Linked DNA regions of Homo sapiens: all the other regions are linked to region 5. Evidence: promoter capture Hi-C in 16 types of primary human blood cells and fetal thymus (Javierre and others, 2016). All regions are on one chromosome and are shown on one strand. The core of a region is centred on a gene start or on the middle of the fragment in contact, and the rest is flanking DNA. Distances in the headings are between cores, read along the strand shown. Region 1 overlaps EGFR (epidermal growth factor receptor). Region 2 overlaps SEC61G-DT (SEC61G divergent transcript). Region 3 has its middle 32 kb from the start of EGFR-AS1. Region 4 overlaps SEC61G-DT (SEC61G divergent transcript). Region 5 holds the start of EGFR (epidermal growth factor receptor). Region 6 has its middle 9.2 kb from the start of ELDR.

The links. Contacts are between HindIII fragments. The CHiCAGO score rates a contact against its expected background, and 5 or more counts as called.
Region 1: a contact is called between a fragment that was not itself captured here and the fragment with the promoter of EGFR in region 5, in 1 of 17 cell types (endothelial precursors). The highest score is 6.4, in endothelial precursors.
Region 2: a contact is called between a fragment that was not itself captured here and the fragment with the promoter of EGFR in region 5, in 1 of 17 cell types (endothelial precursors). The highest score is 5.2, in endothelial precursors.
Region 3: a fragment that was not itself captured here is called in contact with the fragment with the promoter of EGFR in region 5 in 1 of 17 cell types (endothelial precursors); the score reaches 8.0 in endothelial precursors.
Region 4: a contact is called between a fragment that was not itself captured here and the fragment with the promoter of EGFR in region 5, in 1 of 17 cell types (endothelial precursors). The highest score is 6.9, in endothelial precursors.
Region 6: a fragment that was not itself captured here is called in contact with the fragment with the promoter of EGFR in region 5 in 1 of 17 cell types (endothelial precursors); the score reaches 5.0 in endothelial precursors.

Annotation. Positions count from the first base shown.
Region 1 is chr7:55,192,687-55,196,283 of GRCh38, forward strand. EGFR (epidermal growth factor receptor) reads left to right here. Exons shown (of 28, transcript NM_005228.5): 22 at 80-155. Among named protein-coding and RNA genes, the nearest start is that of EGFR-AS1, 5.5 kb to the left of the region's middle. RefSeq lists an enhancer at 1-283. The HindIII fragment of the contact is 2,073 bases long and covers 514-2,586 here.
Region 2 is chr7:54,768,916-54,772,747 of GRCh38, forward strand. All of the region lies in intron 1 of SEC61G-DT (SEC61G divergent transcript), which reads left to right. Among named protein-coding and RNA genes, the nearest start is that of SEC61G-DT, 12 kb to the left of the region's middle. The HindIII fragment of the contact is 2,924 bases long and covers 1-2,866 here.
Region 3 is chr7:55,219,134-55,222,940 of GRCh38, forward strand. No RefSeq gene overlaps it. Among named protein-coding and RNA genes, the nearest start is that of EGFR-AS1, 32 kb to the left of the region's middle. The HindIII fragment of the contact is 5,489 bases long and covers 1-3,807 here.
Region 4 is chr7:54,801,385-54,804,900 of GRCh38, forward strand. It overlaps SEC61G-DT (SEC61G divergent transcript), which reads left to right. Exons shown (of 3, transcript NR_110040.1): 3 at 3,282-3,516. Among named protein-coding and RNA genes, the nearest start is that of SEC61G-DT, 44 kb to the left of the region's middle. The HindIII fragment of the contact is 1,680 bases long and covers 420-2,099 here.
Region 5 is chr7:55,017,684-55,021,076 of GRCh38, forward strand. EGFR (epidermal growth factor receptor) reads left to right here and starts at 1,334. Exons shown (of 28, transcript NM_005228.5): 1 at 1,334-1,682. The coding sequence starts at 1,595. It overlaps LOC105375284 (a long non-coding RNA gene), which reads right to left and starts at 1,239. Exons shown (of 4, transcript XR_007060329.1): 1 at 1-1,239. RefSeq lists an enhancer at 2,334-3,008. The HindIII fragment of the contact is 3,906 bases long and covers 478-3,393 here.
Region 6 is chr7:55,262,934-55,266,776 of GRCh38, forward strand. No RefSeq gene overlaps it. Among named protein-coding and RNA genes, the nearest start is that of ELDR, 9.2 kb to the left of the region's middle. The HindIII fragment of the contact is 689 bases long and covers 1,628-2,316 here.

The sequences.
Region 1 (3,597 bases), core at 300-2,799, 180 kb after region 5:
TAGGTCCAGAGTGAGTTAACTTTTTCCAACAGAGGGAAACTAATAGTTGTCTCACTGCCTCATCTCTCACCATCCCAAGGTGCCTATCAAGTGGATGGCATTGGAATCAATTTTACACAGAATCTATACCCACCAGAGTGATGTCTGGAGCTACGGTGAGTCATAATCCTGATGCTAATGAGTTTGTACTGAGGCCAAGCTGGCTTTTATTGTTAGTTAATTTACATTATATCCTCTGACATGCAAGTATTTTCTTTCGAGATAATGACTAATGATAATGTAATCATTGCTGTCTATCTATTGTACTGAGAAAACACGGCAGAGGAAATCGAGTCCAGCTGCCGTCCAAAAGTCACTGGAGATTGCAATGAGCTCGTCTGGCAGGGTGGGGGGTATGGGAGGGAAAGAGCTTAGGAAACGGCTCTCCCTGCAAAGTCCAACCAAACTTTAACGTTAACCAAACCATTAATGTTGCCATGAATTTGAAGTGAACCAGAGGGAGGTGGCAGAAGAAGCTTAATGGGGAATAGTTCCGGTAGAGAAATGAGGCTTAAGATGAACTACCCTGGCCCTTATGTGTCAGAGAGAACGGCTTGACAAACACACACTGAGGATGTCTGCAGGGATAAAAGAAGAAAGGGAGATGACCCTTGCTTCTCGCTCTCGGGAGGACCATCTGGTCCGGCCCTGGGGATTCTCTGTTTCCTCTTCTGAATCCCAGTGTTGCCCAGCACTGGCCTGTACCCATCCTCACGAGGGCCGCTCTCCTCACCCGGCCCTAGGTCCCTGCCCTGTCCTGAGCCTACAGGGGCCTCCCATGTTGAGAAAGTGTTGCTGACACATTGTCTCTGACCGCTGTGCCAGGCATTTTCTGCTGAATTACCGCACTTGGTCCTTGAATTTCACCCAGCAACTTACTGAAAGGCTGGAACCCATGAACCTACCCCTTCACTGAGGAAAATAAGTTACCCCAGCCATCTACAGCGACAGGAGCAAGGGAGGAGTCGCCTCACCTCTCTAGAAATGTGTATTTGAGGAGAACACTATTGAAATGAATTTCCAAGAATAATCTAGTCAGTATTACAAAAGCAAAATTATTTGGGATATCGTCCTTTTTTACTTAGTATTTTTTCTTTTTCCTATAGCATTATTAACTTTCTGATTTTCCAAATACATACACATTTTTAAATTTCCTGAGTCTTTATCTCTTCTGTTAAAATGTAAGATTTATGATACAAAGGCAGAGATTTGTGTCCATGAATAAGTGAAGTTTGGTGTGCACCTGTGAGCTGAGCCACCTCAATTAATGGAACAGATAAGGAAATAAAGGTCTGCTGATGCATTGTTATTTACAGCCATTTTCAGAATGTATCTCCTCTCCACGAGGGAACTGCAGGGTCCTGCCCCAAGCCATTTATTTTGTCCTCAAGCAGCCCGCCCCTCCCACTCCAGGCACAGCCCGGTCTCCTGCTGGTCTCCCCTCTTCCCACTTGCTCCCCCTCATCTATGCTCCAGACAGAGGCCACATATATTTTTTAACTTTTTTTTTTTTTTTTTTGAGACAGAGTCTTGCCCTGTCACCCAGGCTGGAGTGCAGTGGTGCAGTCTCGGCTCACTGCAACCTCCACCTCCCGGGTTCAAGTGATTCTCCTGCCTCAGCCTCCTGAGTAGCTGGGATTACAGGCGCACACCACCATGCCCAGCTAATTTTTTGTATCTCTAGTTGAGACAGGGTTTCACTATGTTGGCCAGGCTGGTCTCGAACTCCTGACCTCATGATCTGCCCGCCTCGGCCTCCCAAAGTGCATATTTTTTAACTTTATCAGACTTTTCATTCTCTGCTCAACATCTTTCTTTGGTCCTCCAGGTATGTTCAGATAAAACCTGAGCACCTGGCCATGACTGATGGGTTGCTGGGCCATCTGGCCCTGGCAACTCTCCCGTCCACCAGGTCCCCCTCCCGTCACGCTCCAGGCATAGCCTGTGTGTGCCAGCGCAATGCCCACACTCCATGCACAAGTGGAAGCCCTCTCAAAGTCAGTGGCTTAGTGCCTTGATGTGGTCACACCCATTCTCAGGAAGTCCGTTCCCACTGAAAACATTGTGTGTTTTCAACATCATTGAGGCTGCCACGGCAGATTATAATCACTGGCCTAGGCAGCCCACTGGAACTACCAGACCATGAGCCTGAATTTTTTGTTTAAAAATCATATCCTGTTTTCTCTACTCTCTAGTCTCTAGTCAAGGTGAATTATTCAATTTAATAAATTAGGGGCCTAGTGTGTTGTACCAAGGAGCTAAAAAGAGAGAACTCGCAACACCTTCCAGCCCATTCTCCACCTAACACTGGCTATACTGGCTCTCCTCTCTCTCGCTGTTTGTTCCAAAATCTAATAACCTGTCTTCCCACTAGAATTCATCATACATGTTTAAAAACCTAGTTAAATAGTAGTTAAACTGACTGCATAGATCTGGAAATGAGACAGTCTTTCTTTTACAAATCCATATAGACTATGAGTTGGGGGCAGGGGATGACACAAGAATCTATTTTCTTGCCCCCAAACCATTGCTTTCCTTCCAATGTTAAGCTTGTATTCTGTGTATTAATTCAGGTGGTTCCGTTTGGGAATGGCCTCTGTTACCCAGAGATGGGAGGGCCATCAGAACTCGGGGTTGTCTGAAAAAACACTGGTTCTAAAATTATCACTGCTTTCACTTGTTTTTAACCATCATAGTTGTTTGATTTTGAAGGAAAAACATGAGGGTTTTTATTCTATGCTTGTTATATCTATATTGTGGTTTCGTATTTTTTAGATTTTAGTACCTGACATTTTTTTAACTTTTATTTTAGGTTCAGGGGTACATGTGCAGGTTTGTTATATAGGTAAATTTGTGTCATGGGGGTTTGTTACACAGATTATTTTATCACCCAGGGATTAAGCCTAGTACCCATTAGTTATTTTTCCTGATCCTCTCCCTCCTCCCATCCTCCACCGTCCTATAGACCCCAGTGTGTGTTGTTCCCCTCTAAGTGTCCATGTGTTCTCATCATTTAGCTCCCACTTATAAGTAAGAACATGCGGTATTTGATTTTCTGTTCCTGCATTAGTTTGCTAGGGATGATGGCCTCTAGCTCCATCCATGTTCTTGCAAAGTACATGATCTCATTCTCTTTTGTGGCTGCCTAGTGTTCCATGGTGTATATGTACCACATTTTCTTTATCCAGTCTGTCATTGATGGGCATTTAGGTTGATTCCATGTCTTTGCTATTGTAAATAGTGCTGCAGTGAAAATACGCATGCATATGTCTTTATGGTAGAATGATTTATATTCCTTTGAGTAATGGGATTGCCGGGTCAAATGGTAGTTCTGTTTTTAGCTATCTGAGAAATTGCCACACTCTTTTCCACAATAATTGAACTAATTTACATTCCCACCAACAGTGTAAAAGCATTCCTTTTTCTCCACAACCTCACCAGCATGTGTTGGGATTTTTTTTTTTTTTTACTTTTCAATAATAGCCATCTGACTGGTATGAGATGGTATCTCAGTGTGGTTTTGATTTTTATTTCTTTAATGATCAGTGATGTTAAGCT
Region 2 (3,832 bases), core at 155-2,654, 250 kb before region 5:
GCTCAGTTATCCCTGTTATCTCAGTGCTGTGGGAGGCCGAGGCAGGAGGATCAATTGAGGCCAGGAGTTTGAGACCAGCCTGGGCAACATAGTGAGACCCTGTCTCTACAAATAAAAATAAAACCTAGCAGGGCATGGTGACATGCTCCTGTGTCCTAGCTACTGAGGAGGTTGAAGTGGGAGGATCTCTCGGGCCCAGGAGTTGAAGGCTATAGTGAACTATGATTCTAGCCTGGGTGACAGAGCAAGGCCCTGTCTCTCTGTTAAAAAACAAAAACAAACAGAAAACAGCTCTGTCCAAGGGGTTGGGAGATCCTCGATGAAGGAAGAGAAGATAATTGGTTGGGTCTGGAGTATACAAGGACTTCAGGTTCTAGCCATGGCGGAGAAACTGGAGCAAGACCTGCACTCCCAATACCAAAAATGAGAAAACTGGACAAAATATGGGAAACAACTCTTTCAGACACTGGGAAACAGGAAATACAAGACTATGATTCATAAGGGGAGGGTAAAAAAATAAAGTGAGTCTACCCCCTCAGAATTCTGCTTGAAAGGCAGTTTTCAAACCAAAGCCACAAGGTAAGGGGAAAAGATTATATGCAGAGAATGGTAATTATTACTGACCAGGAAGATAGAGATGGGTGGAATTTCTAGGGCATACTAGCATAGAGGAGGGTGCTAAATGGAAAAAGAGCTCTAGAAATCTGCAAAGAGCTCCCATTGCATCTATTGAGGAAAACCAATAGTGCCTATGTAAGATGCAACACCATGAGGCTGGGCTAACAATGACCAGGAGCTGTAAGATGAACAATTCGCAGAGGACACAAGGGCTGGGAGACTATGAGTTCTAACCAGCCAGGTGGAGAGTCCTCCTTGACTGTATGGGACATTTAGTGGAAACCTCAGGAGGGTGGCATCTTAGTAACAGGGCTAAATTTGCCATAGTGTAAAGATTTATACAAAAAAAGGAAGGAAAAAATTAAAGCTACACACTTGAAATTAAAAATTATGTTTGACATCCACTGAAAATTACAAAACATGCAAGAAAGCAGAAAAATGTAGACTTGTAACCAGGAGAAAAATCAGTCAACAGAGGCAGATGCAGAGATAGCAGAGAGGAAAGACTTAAGTGAGTGACTTTAAAAATCATTTGTAAAAATAAGCCCAAGGATTTAAAGAAAATTAAACATAATGAAAAAATCAATAGAAAATGTTTTAACAAGAACCAAACAGAACTTCTAGAGCTGAAAAACATATCTAGAATGAAAAATATCCACTATAGGTGTAACATCCAATGAGAACTTCAGAAGAAAAGATCAGTAAATTTGAACACAGCAATAGAAACTATGATAGTAGAAGCACAGAGAGAAAAGGAGATTGAAAATGAGCCCAACATTGGTGAACTGTGGGCAGAAATATATTGGCAAATTTTAACAAATACCTTTATGGAGAAAAAAGCCTCAATCCATAGCATTGGCCAATTTTCATGATGTAAATATTCCCACTCTGGCTGATTTCAAGGTGCCAATGTGACATCAATGAATACAAAATTTTCCAAATTTGACTAATTATAAACTGACGTATCCAATAAGCTCAAAAAACCTAAATAAAAGACATAGTAGAAAAAGATAATCTTAAAAAGCCAAATTTTAAAAAGTACACATATATACAGAGGACTAAAGATAAAACCAAGAGCAGATATATCATAGGAAGCAATTAAGGGCAGAATCACCTCTTTAAACCACTAGTTGGGGTGGGGAGTGAGAGGAGGGAGTATGAACCTCAAATTCCATATCCATTGGGAATGTTCTTCAAAACCAAGGAATTATACTTTCTTCATCAGAAAGCTAGAAAAAATGAGAATATTAACACCAAAGTAAGTAGAAAGAAGCAAAAAGTAAAGATAGACTTTTAATAAAACAAGGGTCAGCAAATCACAACTTTTCAGGCAAAAATATGGCTTCACACTGTTTTTGTGAATATTTGCATTTGAAAATAGTCCCACTCATTCATTTACTTATTGTTGTCTAGTGCTGCCTTACAAATCATATGGCCAGCAAACCTAAAATATGTATTAGTTATTTACAGAAAAATTCGCTACCCCTAGAAACAGACAACAGAGATAAATCAATACAACTAAAAGGATTCTTCAAAAAATCAATCTCGATAAATCTATTGCTAAACTGATCAGAAAAAAAATAGAAATTTCCAATATTAGGGATGAAAGAAAAGACAGTGCTACCAGTCCTACAAACATTAAATGGGTAATAACAGTACAAACAAATTTATGCCATTAAATTTGATAACTTAGAATCAATGAAAAAAGTGTACAACAAAAATTGTTGCTAGAAAATCTGAATAGCTCTATATGTATTAAAGAAATTGAATTCATAATTTCCTTCTTACAGCAAAACTCCCAGGCCCAAATGTCTTCACTGGTGAATTTTATCAAACATTTAAAAAAGCAATAGTAATTGTAATAAAACATAACCTCTCTCAGAATATAAAAAGAACCCTTTCCAACTCAATTTTTGAAGCCAGCATCATGCTGATACCAAAACCAGACAAATACAGAAAACTTTACACCAATATTCTTCATGAATCTAGATGCAAAAATCTTTAACAAGATATTAACAAATAGAATCCATCTATGTATAAAAAGGACAATATATTACAATCAGGTGGAACATTTCTTAGAAGTGCCAGGTTGTCTTAATATTTGAAAAACCAAGGCAACTCCTCACATTAATAGGAGGGGAAAATGTTTTTTTCTCCCTTAGGACTAGAAGAAAAAGTGCACTTGACAAAATTTAGCCACATTTATTACAAAAACTTTCATCAAAGCAGGAATAAAAAGAAACTCTCAAGCTTATAGAGGGCACTTTTAAAAATGTGCAGCTAACATCATACCTAATGGCAAAAGACTGAACTTATTTTCTCTAAGAACAGGAGCTAAGAACAGGAACAGAGCTGATGCTGGTACAATTATATATCTGTATGGAAAAAAAAAAAAACTTTAGTATTTCCAACATATGATACACAAAAGTTAACATGAAAAAGATCATGGATGAAAATGCAAAAAGTAAAACTATAAAACTTCTAGGAAAAATGTAGGAGAAAATTTTTGTGATCTCAATGTAGGCAAACATTTTTGAGGTAATAAATCTATAATTTTTTTTTTTTTTTTTTGAGACGGAGTCTCACTCAGTCACCCAGGCTGAAGTGCAGTGGCGCGATCTCGGCTCACTGCAAGCTCCACCTCTCGGGTTCACCCCATTCTCCTGCCTCAGCCTCCCAGGGAGCTGGGACTACAGGCGCCCGCTACCACGCACGGCTAACTTTTTGTATTTTTTTTAGTAGAGACAGGGTTTCACCGTGCTAGCCAGGATGGTCTCAATCTCCTGACCTCATGATCCGCCCGCTTCAGCCTCCCAAAGTGCTGGGATTATAGGCGTGAGCCACTGCGCCCGGCCCACAAATCTGTAACTTTAAAAAATGATAAATTAGACTATCAAAATTTAAAATGTTTGCTCCCCAAAGGATACTATTAATAATATAAAAAGGCAGGTCACAAACTAGGAAAAAAATAACGATATATATATGTGACAAGATACTTTTATAGAGCATCATATATAAAGAAATCTTATGATTCAATAATTAGAAGATAAATAACCCAATTTTATAAAGTGAGAGAAGCAAATGAATTAAACAGACTTTAACCAAAGAATATATACAAATAGCCAATAGCCACATGCAAAGATGCTCAGCATTATTAGTTAGCAGGAAAATGCAAATTAAACTCATCATGAGTCACCTCCACACACCCATTAGA
Region 3 (3,807 bases), core at 19-2,518, 200 kb after region 5:
GGCAGGGTCATGGGACAATAGTGGAGGGAAGGTCAGCAGATAAACAAGTGAACAAAGGTCTCTGGTTTTCCTAGGCAGAGGACCCTGCGGCCTTCCGCAGTGTTTGTGTCCCTGATTACTTGAGATTAGGGATTGGTGATGACTCTTAACGAGCATGCTGCCTTCAAGCATCTGTTTAACAAAGCACATCTTGCACCGCCCTTAATCCATTTAACCCTGAGTGGACACAGCACATGTTTCAGAGAGCACAGGGTTGGGGGTAAGGTCACAGATCAACAGGATCCCAAGGCAGAGGAATTTTTCTTAGTGCAGAACAAAATGAAAAGTCTCCCATGTCTACTTCTTTCTACACAGACACGGCAACCATCCGATTTCTCAATCTTTTCCCCACCTTTCCCGCCTTTCTATTCCACAAAGCCGCCATTGTCATCCTGGCCCGTTCTCAATGAGCTGTTGGGCACACCTCCCAGACGGGGTGGTGGCCGGGCAGAGGGGCTCCTCACTTCCCAGTAGGGGCGGCCGGGCAGAGGCGCCCCTCACCTCCCGGACGGGGCGGCTGGCCGGGCAGGGGGGCTGACCCCCCCCACCTCCCTCCCGGACGGGGCGGCTGGCCGGGCGGGGGGCTGACCCCCCCACCTCCCTCGCGGACGGGGCGGCTGGCCGGGCAGAGGGGCTCCTCACTTCCCAGTAGGGGCGGCCGGGCAGAGGCGCCCCTCACCTCCCGGACGGGGCGGCTGGCCGGGCAGGGGGGCTGACCCCCCCCACCTCCCTCCCGGACGGGGCGGCTGGCCGGGCGGGGGGCTGACCCCCCCACCTCCCTCGCGGACGGGGCAGCTGGCCGGGCAGAGGGGCTCCTCACTTCCCAGTAGGGGCGGCCGGGCAGAGGCGCCCCTCACCTCCCAGACGGGGCGGCTGGCCGGGCGGAGGGCTGACCCCCCCACCTCCCTCCCGGACGGGGCGGCTGGCCGGGCAGAGGGGCTCCTCACTTCCCAGTAGGGGCGGCCGGGCAGAGGCGCCCCTCACCTCCCGGACCGGGCGGCTGGCCGGGCGGGGGGCTGACCCCCCCACCTCCCTCCCGGATGGCACGGCTGGCCGGGCGGGGGGCTGACCCCCCACCTCCCTCCCGGTTGGGGCGGCTGGCCGGGCGGGGGGCTGACCCCCCCTCACCTCCCTCCCGGACGGGGTGGCTGCCGGGCGGAGATGCTCCTCACTTCCCAGATGGGGTGGCTGCTGGGCGGAGAGGCTCCTCACTTCTCAGACGGGGCAGCTGCCGGGCGGGGGGGCTCCTCACTTCTCAGACGGGGTGGTTGCCAGGCAGAGGGTCTCCTCACTTCTCAGACGGGGCGGCCGGGCAGAGACGCTCCTCACCTCCCAGACGGGGTCTCGGCCGGGCAGAGGCGCTCCTCACATCCCAGATGGGGCGGTGGGGCAGAGGCGCTCCCCACATCTCAGACGATGGGCGGCCGGGCAGAGACGCTCCTCACTTCCTAGATGTGATGGCGGCTGGGAAGAGGCGCTCCTCACTTCCTAGATGGGATGGCGGCCGGGCGGAGACGCTCCTCACTTCCCAGACTGGGCGGCCGGGCAGAGGGGCTCCTCACATCCCAGACGATGGGCGGCCAGGCAGAGACACTCCTCACTTCCCAGACGGGGTGGCGGCCGGGCAGAGGCTGCAATCTCGGCACTTTGGGAGGCCAAGGCAGGCGGCTGGGAGGTGGAGGTTGTAGTGAGCCGAGATCACGCCACTGCACTCCAGCCTGGGCACCATTGAGCACTGAGTGAACGAGACTCCGTCTGCAATCCCGGCACCTCGGGAGGCCGAGGTTGGCGGATCACTCGCGGTTAGGGGCTGGAGACCGGCCCGGCCAACACAGCGAAACCCCGTCTCCACCAAAACCAGTCAGGCGTGGCGGCGCGTGCCTGCAATCGCAGGCACTCGGCAGGCTGAGGCAGGAGAATCAGGCAGGGAGGTTGCAGTGAGCCGAGATGGCAGCAGTACAGTCCAGCTTCGGCTCCGCATGAGAGGGAGACCGTGGGGAGAGGGAGACGGAGACGGAGACGGAGAGGGAGGGGGAGGGGGAGGGGGAGGGAGAGGGAGAGGGAGAGGGAGAGGGAGAGGGAGAGGGAGAGGGAGAGGGAGAGGGAGAGGGAGAGGGAGAGGGAGAGGGAGAGGGAGAGGGAGAGGGAGAGGGAGAGGGAGAGGGAGAGGGAGAGGGAGAGGCTAATTGGCAACTCTGCAATGTGCTTTTAAAAGGGAGTTGAAGCAGCAGGGTGTTGGGTGTTCTCAGTCCCACAAGAGAATTTATCCCTGATGCATGCAGGAATCTACTGAAAATAATTAATACCTTCTCTCCTACCCTTCTAGAATTGTGCTAGTTATGCATCATCCTTGGGGGAATAGAGACAACGGTCACCTATTTGTTTTTTGTAGGGCTTAGTTCTCTCCTGGGACCTTAGTTGAGAAAGGCCCACTAGCATTCCAGAATAAAAGATGATTTCAAACTTCATCTACTACCTTAACCAAAAGAAAGACATATAATAATTTAGTAAAGTTCTAATTGAACAGTGAAAGAATTACAACTAAGGAAATAATAAGTGATTATATAGAGAGAGAGGGAGAGTTTTAATATAGACAAGACACTGTCCTGAGTGTACATCTAAGACAGAAATTATTATTTCCACTTTACAGATGAAGAAACATTTAAAGTGCAATATTACACTGCTATTTTGGACACAGTAGCATAGATCTACTACATCAGTGTTTTACCTTCCTAAGAAATTCAATAGGGAAAAGTCAGGTCAACCTTGCTGGGGACCAATGCCTCCACAGCTGGATATTTCCTGGAGATCAGCTACCACACTGCCTGGACACCAACCCCAAACTAAAACCAGTCAGCTCTGGGGTAGACCAGGACCCAGGGCTCCCTGAGAGCGATCAGACCCACAGTCTTATGCCAGCATGCGCTGAAGACGCTTAGCCCACCGCAGCACACATTTACTGGCCTACTCTGTGCCAAGTCAGGTGTTTAGCACTGCGGAAATACCTAGGCCAGTGCTCCAAAAGAAACCTTTACACCCGCAGATGTGCACACATGCACCTGCGCACACACAGACACACACACACGAAATTTGGCGAGGAGCCCTGGGCAGAGATAACCCTACCCTCACCTGACAGAGGAGGATTCTGGCAACTGGTGACCACCAGGCTGAGCTCCTGCAACCTGGTAAACTGTCAAAGTATTGGGTAAAATGTATGTGAATATTTTTGAATCTTAGGAAGGGGAGGTGATCCTAATGCATAACACGAAACTCCAAAGGCATAAAGAGAAAGATTGATAAGAAGACTGTTTGATGTTTTTTAATTTTTAAAGAAAAGAATAATTAACCACAGAAGAAAACAAAGTGGGAGGAGAGGCTGACTCTTTCCATGTTAAAGAACGAATCAAAAACTCAGCATGGGCTCTAAAACAGCATTGTTCATTATAAAAAGTACAGACATAACACAGAAGATAAAGCAGCATACTTCTGTGTCTAGAAAAACGTAAAGATCTCCTTAATGAGGTCCTGGAAAAGCTAAAACCGGGGAGGCAGTATAAAGATGCATGCTTGCAGGGAGCCAGCGGGGAGGGACAGATGAATCCGCTGAACACGGGGGATTTTCAGGGCAGGAAATTACTCTGTATGAGCCTGTAATGGTGGATATATTTGTCCAAACCCAGAGTATACAACACCAAGAGAGAATCCTCATGTAAACCGTGGACTTTGGGAGATCATGATAGGTCCATATATTGTAAGCAATGAGGCTCT
Region 4 (3,516 bases), core at 10-2,509, 220 kb before region 5:
AACAAAAACAAACAAAAAAAGAGTTCCTATTATGTTTCATCTGAATGAATTAGACTTAGTACACAGTTGATTTTCTCCACATCTGATGACTAGCTGACACTGAACATCAGTAAGCTAGCCTTCCGACATGAGAACTTCATGTGCATTCGGTAACTCCGCATTTCATGTGATCATTACCTGCATTACTCACATGAAATCTCACTGACCTGGATTGTAACAACCTTTCCACATGTCTTCCTCAGCAGTCCCTCAGTCCCTCGAGAGTGGTAAATATGTCTAATTGATTTACATATTCTAATATCTGACAGTGTGACTGTTTCAAAACAGTTGCTCCATAATTGTTGAATTAATGAAATACTAACTCTCCTCCATTTCAGCGTAGTATCCTTCTGTCTTTATGACAAGGATTGCTAATTTCAAGCTTTTAGCCCAGTTGTTTGGTAGTCAAGGAATATATAAAACTGTTTCCTCATGGAACAAAAATAGTAATATCCACAAAACCCCATTTTTCCATCCACCTCCTGTATATAAATAAACCTAAGATCATTAAAAGGGATGTCATGACTTGAGAGGTCTCCACCTGAAACTGGGACTTGACTTTGGTTTTATTGGCTCTGCTAGGCTGTGGGCTGAATATAAAACCATGCCTAGTCCTTTGAATACACTTATTATTTCTTTACAAATGCAATTTGTAGTGGACTTCCTGAAAATGTTTCAGAACAGGATATAGCATCTTATTTTTTTTAACTTTTTCTTTAAAATATTCAAGGAAATCTAAAAAGCAGAGAGAGAAAACTCAGCGCAGCTCTGGCAGCAAAGATCAGAACCATCAGAGGCCAGCGTTAGGGAAGGTTATGGTAAGAGGCAGCACTTGCAGTCAAAGTCAGATTCTTCATCAGACGCAGTGCAACGCCGACCCAAGCAGCTCCTGGCTGGCACGGGGCCATGCTCCAGGCTGGGTCTTCTCCAGTCCTTTCGTTCACACCTGCACTTGTACGTTTTGCTTCAGTTTATTACTCTGTCTTTCCTTTGCACCTAAACAAAACAACTACTTTCCCCACCCGCCCCCGCCCCCCTCAACCCCGAGTAAGTTTGGACCATTCTCTCAGACATTTCTTGGTATGTAGAAATTTCTGCCTGGAATAAAGTTACTTGAATGACGACGTTAACCCTTCTTGGATTTGCCCTTGGATCGTAATTCAAGGACCCTGTGCCCCTCACTAAGTCTCAGATGCATCTCTCTTGTTTAGATAATTATTGTACATCTTCTTCTGGGTCTTCAGGCCTGGCATTCTTCTTGACATTCTGACGTCTGCAAATCTATCTCATTCACTCCCTTATGTTATCGACTGCAACTTTCTTCAGAGCACTGGCTTTTTGATGCCCGAGTCAATTAGATCAGGATAATTTGTGAGATAAATGGAAAATTCCTACACGTGCTCTTGTGTCAATATTTTCTCTCCATGAAAAATCACACTTTGCTCCTTAGCCGCTTGGGTTGTTACCTTAGCACAGTATGACTGAGTCAGGAGAGCATATTTCTGTTTTTCACTGATTCAAATCTAAGCTGAGGAGCTACCCGCTAGGCTGGCACCTTCCCTCACTACCTACCTGGGCCTTCCCCTGCATTTGGTGGGTGCACTCCTGAGCGGCTTGCTGAGTCAGAACTAGTTGGAAGATGACTAGGACTTCCAACAAGGTTGCTGACAAGTTTCTCTTCTAATACATGTGAGCAATTTCCTGGCCTGCTTTTTTTTGCTGCCTCTCCACTAGATGTTCTTTGAAAGCATGGTAACCAGTCATGGAAAGGTTTTCTGACATACAGGAGACCAAACGTTGGCTAGCTAATTCTTAGGCTGAAATTATTACTGTAATTTGAAATAATAATTATAAAAACATGCAGGATGTGAATCTTTAATAATCCAACCAAATTCAGAGACCGAAACATGTTACCAGGCAGCTTGTAAAAATGTTCCTGGTACAGTATGCTGTTGCATTCTGGATAGCGTCTCTTACCCCTCTGAGCAGTGCAATCACCCTGTAATAATTCTCCACCTTTTACACTCTTCTGCCTGGAAGGTGGCATAGTGGTGTAAATAAGCTTTCTGAATTTAAACAACAACAACCCTGATTTGCGGCATTTGCTGACTTTTGTTGTGTAAAGATTCCTGCCATAGCTGATTTCAAGCTATAAACAGTTTAGCAGCTTCCTCATAGAATTGCTGTGCATTTAACAATTGGTGCTCTGAGCCCCCAGGAGCTGCCTCCAGGATAACCCTGGGTGTGGAGCCCAACCTGAGACACCCATCGCCTCTCTTACGCCCAACTGAGGGTTTGCCAAGGTCCATGTGAGAGGTGAGGCCAGCTGGACTTCCTGGGTCCAGTGGGGACTTGGGGAACTTTCCTGTCTTACAAGAGGATTGTAAAACGCACCAATCAGCACTCTGTAAAACACTAATCAGTGCTCTGTAAAACACACCAATTGGCGCTCTGTCAAATGCACGAATCAGCAGGATTCTAAACGTAGCCAATTGTGGGGAGGATTGAAAAAAGGGCACTCTGATAGGACAGAAACGGGACATGGGTGGGCATAATAAAGGAATAAAAGCTGGCCATCCCAGCCAGCAGCAGCAACCTGCTCAGGTACGCTTCCACGTTGCAGAAGCTTTGTCCTTTCGTTCTTCACAGTAAACCTTGCTACCCCTCAGTTCTTGGGTCTGTGCCATCTTTAAGAGCTGTAACACTCACCATGAAGGTCTGCGGCTTCATTCTTTGAAGTCAGTGAGACCATGAACCCACCAGCAGGAACCAGCTCCGGACACACATGGTCTCTTCAGAAACAAAGTGGTCTCAGCAATGAACGTTTCCAGCGAACTCCCTATATAATTTGAATGTAACAATATATCACAACATAAACAGGCTTTCCAATTTATGCAATAGGCTTTACGTTTTCTGTATTTTTGTCTGCATGTATAGAATTGACAAAGCCTATATTTTCCACATAGGAAAATATACAACGAAGAGTTATTTTGTTTTTGTATCAGTGTTGCGTGGAATATTCCACTTCAGTTAAAACAGCTGTTGTTTGGGCAGAGTATCAACGTGTGGCACACACAAGCTAAACAACCCAGTAGAGACTGCATTCTTCAAGAGGAGCTGCTTACCTGGCAATGCCCGCTGGGAGCTTCCCTAACTGGAGGTCCCCTCGCTGGGAGCATCCTGCCAGTGCAGACAGACGTATAACCTGGGATGTCTGTTTTTTCTTTTTTCTCTTGACCTAGTCAGAAGATTGAACATGTTGTAACTGTAGAAAGCCCGTCATCCTTGTGTATGCACTTGCTGAAAGATCCACTGAAGAGCAACCTTCATGAACATTACCAGGGGACTTGTGCTCCTATAAAACGCACTGTTTTCCTCACTGCGAGGTGGGTCTCTCACCGCGATGGACTATCTGTGATCACAGAGCACTTCTTCCCTGGGCCTTCCCTGTCACACTGATGGTGTGAGTATGTAGGG
Region 5 (3,393 bases), core at 84-2,583:
CATGACTTCAACGCACAGTGGCTGTACTGATTTGTTAAAACAAAGGAACAGATTACTTCTCCTAATTCACAGGGAAGTTCCAGGTTGTGCGGGCAGTGAGCAGACCTGTGTCTGTCTGCGCTTGCCCTGGTGAAAAACCCCACCGTTCAGGCTGCAGGGTGCGAGACCCAGGCACAAACATTTTGCTGGATGAGGAGGAAAGATGTAAGGTTGCTCCCCTTCAGAGACAGCAAAGGGCAGGTCTGTAGCTTCACTTACTTCAGGATTGTGATTTTTGACAGAGCCGAGAGATCAGGGTTGTTGAACCAGGCCTGAAGGTCCTAGTGAATCTCGTGAAGAGAGGAGGGGTCTGGCTGTAACATGGACCTAGAGGACATTTTTACTGCAGGAGAAGGAACAGTGGGGATGGGGTGGACTTGCCAAAGGAATATAGCTCAAGTTCCTGCAGCCCAAAAAAGCTCAGTTTCTTTTGGCCAAAGCTTCCGCGAGTTTCCCTGGCATTTCTCCTGCGGGAGCTACAGGGGCAGTGGGACACTTAGCCTCTCTAAAAGCACCTCCACGGCTGTTTGTGTCAAGCCTTTATTCCAAGAGCTTCACTTTTGCGAAGTAATGTGCTTCACACATTGGCTTCAAAGTACCCATGGCTGGTTGCAATAAACATTAAGGAGGCCTGTCTCTGCACCCGGAGTTGGGTGCCCTCATTTCAGATGATTTCGAGGGTGCTTGACAAGATCTGAAGGACCCTCGGACTTTAGAGCACCACCTCGGACGCCTGGCACCCCTGCCGCGCGGGCACGGCGACCTCCTCAGCTGCCAGGCCAGCCTCTGATCCCCGAGAGGGTCCCGTAGTGCTGCAGGGGAGGTGGGGACCCGAATAAAGGAGCAGTTTCCCCGTCGGTGCCATTATCCGACGCTGGCTCTAAGGCTCGGCCAGTCTGTCTAAAGCTGGTACAAGTTTGCTTTGTAAAACAAAAGAAGGGAAAGGGGGAAGGGGACCCTGGCACAGATTTGGCTCGACCTGGACATAGGCTGGGCCTGCAAGTCCGCGGGGACCGGGTCCAGAGGGGCAGTGCTGGGAACGCCCCTCTCGGAAATTAACTCCTCAGGGCACCCGCTCCCCTCCCATGCGCCGCCCCACTCCCGCCGGAGACTAGGTCCCGCGGGGGCCACCGCTGTCCACCGCCTCCGGCGGCCGCTGGCCTTGGGTCCCCGCTGCTGGTTCTCCTCCCTCCTCCTCGCATTCTCCTCCTCCTCTGCTCCTCCCGATCCCTCCTCCGCCGCCTGGTCCCTCCTCCTCCCGCCCTGCCTCCCCGCGCCTCGGCCCGCGCGAGCTAGACGTCCGGGCAGCCCCCGGCGCAGCGCGGCCGCAGCAGCCTCCGCCCCCCGCACGGTGTGAGCGCCCGACGCGGCCGAGGCGGCCGGAGTCCCGAGCTAGCCCCGGCGGCCGCCGCCGCCCAGACCGGACGACAGGCCACCTCGTCGGCGTCCGCCCGAGTCCCCGCCTCGCCGCCAACGCCACAACCACCGCGCACGGCCCCCTGACTCCGTCCAGTATTGATCGGGAGAGCCGGAGCGAGCTCTTCGGGGAGCAGCGATGCGACCCTCCGGGACGGCCGGGGCAGCGCTCCTGGCGCTGCTGGCTGCGCTCTGCCCGGCGAGTCGGGCTCTGGAGGAAAAGAAAGGTAAGGGCGTGTCTCGCCGGCTCCCGCGCCGCCCCCGGATCGCGCCCCGGACCCCGCAGCCCGCCCAACCGCGCACCGGCGCACCGGCTCGGCGCCCGCGCCCCCGCCCGTCCTTTCCTGTTTCCTTGAGATCAGCTGCGCCGCCGACCGGGACCGCGGGAGGAACGGGACGTTTCGTTCTTCGGCCGGGAGAGTCTGGGGCGGGCGGAGGAGGAGACGCGTGGGACACCGGGCTGCAGGCCAGGCGGGGAACGGCCGCCGGGACCTCCGGCGCCCCGAACCGCTCCCAACTTTCTTCCCTCACTTTCCCCGCCCAGCTGCGCAGGATCGGCGTCAGTGGGCGAAAGCCGGGTGCTGGTGGGCGCCTGGGGCCGGGGTCCCGCACGTGCGCCCCGCGCTGTCTTCCCAGGGCGCGACGGGGTCCTGGCGCGCACCCGAGGGGCGGGCGCTGCCCACCCGCCGAGACTGCACTGTTTAGGGAAGCTGAGGAAGGAACCCAAAAATACAGCCTCCCCTCGGACCCCGCGGGACAGGCGGCTTTCTGAGAGGACCTCCCCGCCTCCGCCCTCCGCGCAGGTCTCAAACTGAAGCCGGCGCCCGCCAGCCTGGCCCCGGCCCCTCTCCAGGTCCCCGCGATCCTCGTTCCCCAGTGTGGAGTCGCAGCCTCGACCTGGGAGCTGGGAGAACTCGTCTACCACCACCTGCGGCTCCCGGGGAGGGGTGGTGCTGGCGGCGGTTAGTTTCCTCGTTGGCAAAAGGCAGGTGGGGTCCGACCCGCCCCTTGGGCGCAGACCCCGGCCGCTCGCCTCGCCCGGTGCGCCCTCGTCTTGCCTATCCAAGAGTGCCCCCCACCTCCCGGGGACCCCAGCTCCCTCCTGGGCGCCCGCGCCGAAAGCCCCAGGCTCTCCTTCGATGGCCGCCTCGCGGAGACGTCCGGGTCTGCTCCACCTGCAGCCCTTCGGTCGCGCCTGGGCTTCGCGGTGGAGCGGGACGCGGCTGTCCGGCCACTGCAGGGGGGGATCGCGGGACTCTTGAGCGGAAGCCCCGGAAGCAGAGCTCATCCTGGCCAACACCATGGTGTTTCAAAATGGGGCTCACAGCAAACTTCTCCTCAAAACCCGGAGACTTTCTTTCTTGGATGTCTCTTTTTGCTGTTTGAAGAATTTGAGCCAACCAAAATATTAAACCTGTCTTACACACACACACACACACACACACACACACACACCGGATTGCTGTCCCTGGTTCAAGTGTGCCAAGTGTGCAGACAGAACATGAGCGAGTCTGGCTTCGTGACTACCGACCATAAACCCACTTGACAGGGGAAACATGCCTTGGAAGGTTTAATTGCACAATTCCAACCTTGAGCTGCGCGGGTTCCAAGAGCCAGGCCCGTACTTGCTGTTGATGTCATTGGCTTGGGGAGTTGGGGTTTGGTGCCCAGCGCGGTCGTTGGGGGAGGGGCAAGGCATAGAACAGTGGTTCCCAGACCTTGCTGCACATTGGAATTACCTGGGATTAAAAAAAAAAAAATCAAAACAAAAACCAGTGTCTGGCTCCCGCCCCCAGACATTCTGATTTAATTGGCATGGGGCAAGACCTGGACTTGGGATTTTTTTTAATGCTCTTCATGTGATCTGTTGGGCAGCCAGATTTGGGGATCACTAGACGGAAGAAGGATTGTTAAAGTCTCCGGAGATGTTACTTGCCA
Region 6 (3,843 bases), core at 722-3,221, 250 kb after region 5:
TAACATTCTCCAGTAAAGATTGTATGTCAGGCCACAAAACAAGTCTTAACAAATTTAAGAAGACAGAAATCATATTAAGTATCTTTTCTGACCATAATGGTATGAGAGTAAAAATCAAGAACAAATGGAAAACCAGAACATTCATTAATAGATGGAAATTAAACACACCCCTGAACAATCAATGGGTCAAATACAAAATTTAAAGGGAAATTAAAAATATTTTGAGACAAAGGAAAATGAAAACACAACATAACCAAAATTTATGGGACGCAGCAAAAAACAGTTCTAAGACAGATGTTTGTAGCAATGAATGTCTACATCAGAAAAGAAAAATCTCAAATAAACAACCTAAGGTTGCATCCCAAGAAACTAGGAAAAGAAGAAAAAACTAAGTCCAAACTTGGCAGAAGGAAAAAATAACAAAGATCAGAACAGAAATTAGTGAAATAAAGACTAGAACAACAATAGAAAAGATCAATTAAAATAAGAGTTACTTTTTTGAAAACATAAAATTGACAAACCCTTAGGCTAACTAAGAAAAAAGAGAAAAGACTCAAATAAATAAAATTATAAATGAGAAAGGAGACATTACAATGCATACCACAGAAATAAAAAAGATTGTAAGAGACTGCTATTAAAAACTGTACTTCAACAAATTGGATAACTTAGAAGAAATGGACCCACTGCTAGAAATGTAACAGCCTACCAAGACTAAATCATGAAGAAACAGAGAAATCTTAACAGACTAATGATAAGTCAGAAAATTGAATCAGTAATCAAAACCCTTCCATCAAAGAAAAGCCCTAAACCAGATGGCTTCATGGGTGAATTATACCAAACAGTTAAAGAAAAATTAACACCAATCCTTCTCCAACTATTCCAAAAAAACCGAAGAAGACAGAATACATCTAAACTAATTTTACAAGCCCAGCATTACCCCAATACCAAGGCCACCCAAGGACACTATAAGAAAAGAAAATTACAGGCCAATATTCCTGATGAACATAGATGCAAAAACCCTCAACAAAATGCTAGCAAACAGAATTTTATAGTACACACATGTACCATGATCAAGTGAGTTTCACCCCAGGGATGCAAAGATGGTTCAACATACACAGATCAATAAATGTCACACACCACATTAATAGAATAAGGGATAAAAAGTACATGATTATCTCTATAGATACAGAGAAAATATTTGACAAAATTCAGTATGTTTTCTTTTTTTTTTTTTTCTTGAAATGGAGTCTTGCTCTGTTAGCCAGGCTAGAGTGCAGTGGCGCAATCTCGGTTCACTGCAACCTCCATCTCCCAGGTTGAAGCGATTCTCTTGCCTCAGCCTCCCTAGTAGCTGGGATTACAGGAATGTGCCACCACATTTGGCTAATTTTTGTATTTTTAGAATAGACGGGGTTTTACCATGTTGGCCAGGCTGGTCTCGAACTCCTGAACTCAAGTGATCCATCCACCTTGGGATTACAGGTGTGAGCCACCGTGCCTGGCTCAATATCTTTTCATGATAAAAAATGCTCAGCAAATTAGATATAGAAGGAACGCATCTCAATATAATAAAAACCATATATGGGAAACCCACAACTAACATCATACTCAAGGGTGAAAAGCTGAAAGCTTTTTCTCTTAGATCAGGAGCAAACAAGGAAACCCACTCTCACCACTTCTGTTCCATATAGCACTGGATGTCCTAGCCAGAATAATTAGGCTAAATAAATGAATAAATAAAAGGCATTCAAATCAGAAATGAAGGAGTAAAATTTTCTCCATTTGATGTCATGATCTTATATACAGAAAATCCTAACTACTCCACCAAAAAAAATTGTTAGAACTAATAAACAAGTTCAGTAAAGTTACAGGATACAAAATCAACATACAAAATTTAGTAAGGTTTCTAATACCAATCACAAACTGTCTAAAAAGAAAGCAAGAAAAAAAATCCCATTTACAATAGCTACCAAAAAATAAAATACTTAAGAAAAATTTCACCAAGGAAGGAGGTGAAAGAGCTGTACACTAAAGACTATAAAACACTGGTGAGAGAAATGAAAGAAAACACAAATCAGTGGGGAGGTATTTCATGTTCATGAATTGTTAGAATTAGCATTGTCAAAATGTAGTATCCAAGGTGATTTACAATACAATTCCTATCAAAATTCAAATTGCATTTTTCAAAGAAATAGATAATCCTAAAATTTGCATGGAGCTAAATAAAAGATAATAAAAGATGCTAAATAGCCAAAATAATCTTGAGCAAAAATAACAGAGCTAGAAACATATACCTGATTTCAAAATATACTACAAAGCTTTGGAAATCGAAACAACATGATGGTCACTTAAAAACAGAGATATAGACTAATTGGCCAGGCAAGGTGGCCCACACCTGTAATCCCAGCACTTTGGAAGGCCGAGGCGGGTGGATCGCTTGAGGTCAGGAGTTTGAGACCAGCCTGGCCAACATAGCAAAACCCCGCCTTTACTAAAAATACAAAAATTAGCCAGGCTGTGGCAGGCGCCTGTAATCCCAGCTACCTGGGAGGCTGAGGCAGGAGAATCGCTTGAACCTGTTGCAGTTCAACAGGTTGTTGCAGTGAGCAGAGATGCACTCCAGTGACGCACTGCACTCCAGCCTGGGCAACAGAGCAAGACTCCGTCTCAAAACAAAAGGAAAAAAAAGAAAGAAATACAGACCAATGGAACAGAGCAGAGAGTCCAGAAGAAAATCCATGCATTCACAGCTGATTGATCTTCAACAAATGTGTCCAGAACACACAATGGGAAAAGAACTGTCTCTTCAATAAATGCTGTTGGGAAAACTGGATGTCCACATGCAGAAGAATGAAATTAGACCCTTATGTCACACCAAATACAAAAATAAACTCAAAATGAATTAAAGTCTTAAATGCAATACTTGAAACTGTAAAAGTCTTAGAAGAAAACATAGGAAAAAGCTTCTTGACATCAGTCTGGACAATGACTTTTTTGATATGATGGCAAAAGCACAAGCAACAAAAGCAAACATAGACAAATGGGATTGCATCCAACTAAAAAGCTTCCGCATAGCAAAGGAAACAAACAACAGAGCGAAGAGACAACCTGTGAAATGGGAGGAAAATATTTGCAAACCATACAGCTGATAAGGGGTTAACATCCAAAATATACAAGGAACACAAATCAATAGCAAGAAAACACGTAACCTGATCTAAAAACAAGCAAAGGATCTGAACAGACTTTTCTCAAAAGAAGCCATTAGGCGTGTTTACCCATTGGCTCAGAAATCTGCCTTGGACTAGAATAAAAGAACTGCAGGAAAATAATTGAGAAAAATACTGTTTATCTTTACGTACAGATTTTCTCCATGATTTTGTTTTTATGTAAGCAAGTTGTATAACCTTGTGAAAATTACTTGACCTCTGTTGGCTTTTGTTTCTTTATCTGAGAAAGTAAGAAGCTGAAGAAGATGATTCAGAGTCTGAAGGCTGCTTTCCAATCCCAGTTTCCCATGGGTCACACCAGGGTGTGTGCAAGGCCCTTTACCTCCCTGAAGGGACCACTGTCATCATAGCCATGCAGATACTGACAACCTCGAATATTTGAATCAAATGAGATGAATGTAAACATCCTTTAAAAATTGAAAGGCAGTCCAGGCACGGGGGCTCATGCCTGTAATCCCAGCACTTTGGGAGGCTGAAGCGGGCAGATCACTTGAGGTCAGGAGTTCAAGACCAGCCTGGCCAACGTGGCGAAACCCCGTCTCTATTAAAAATATAAAAAATAGCCAGGCATGCTGGTGCACCTGTAGTTACAGCTACTCGGGAGGCTGAGGCATGA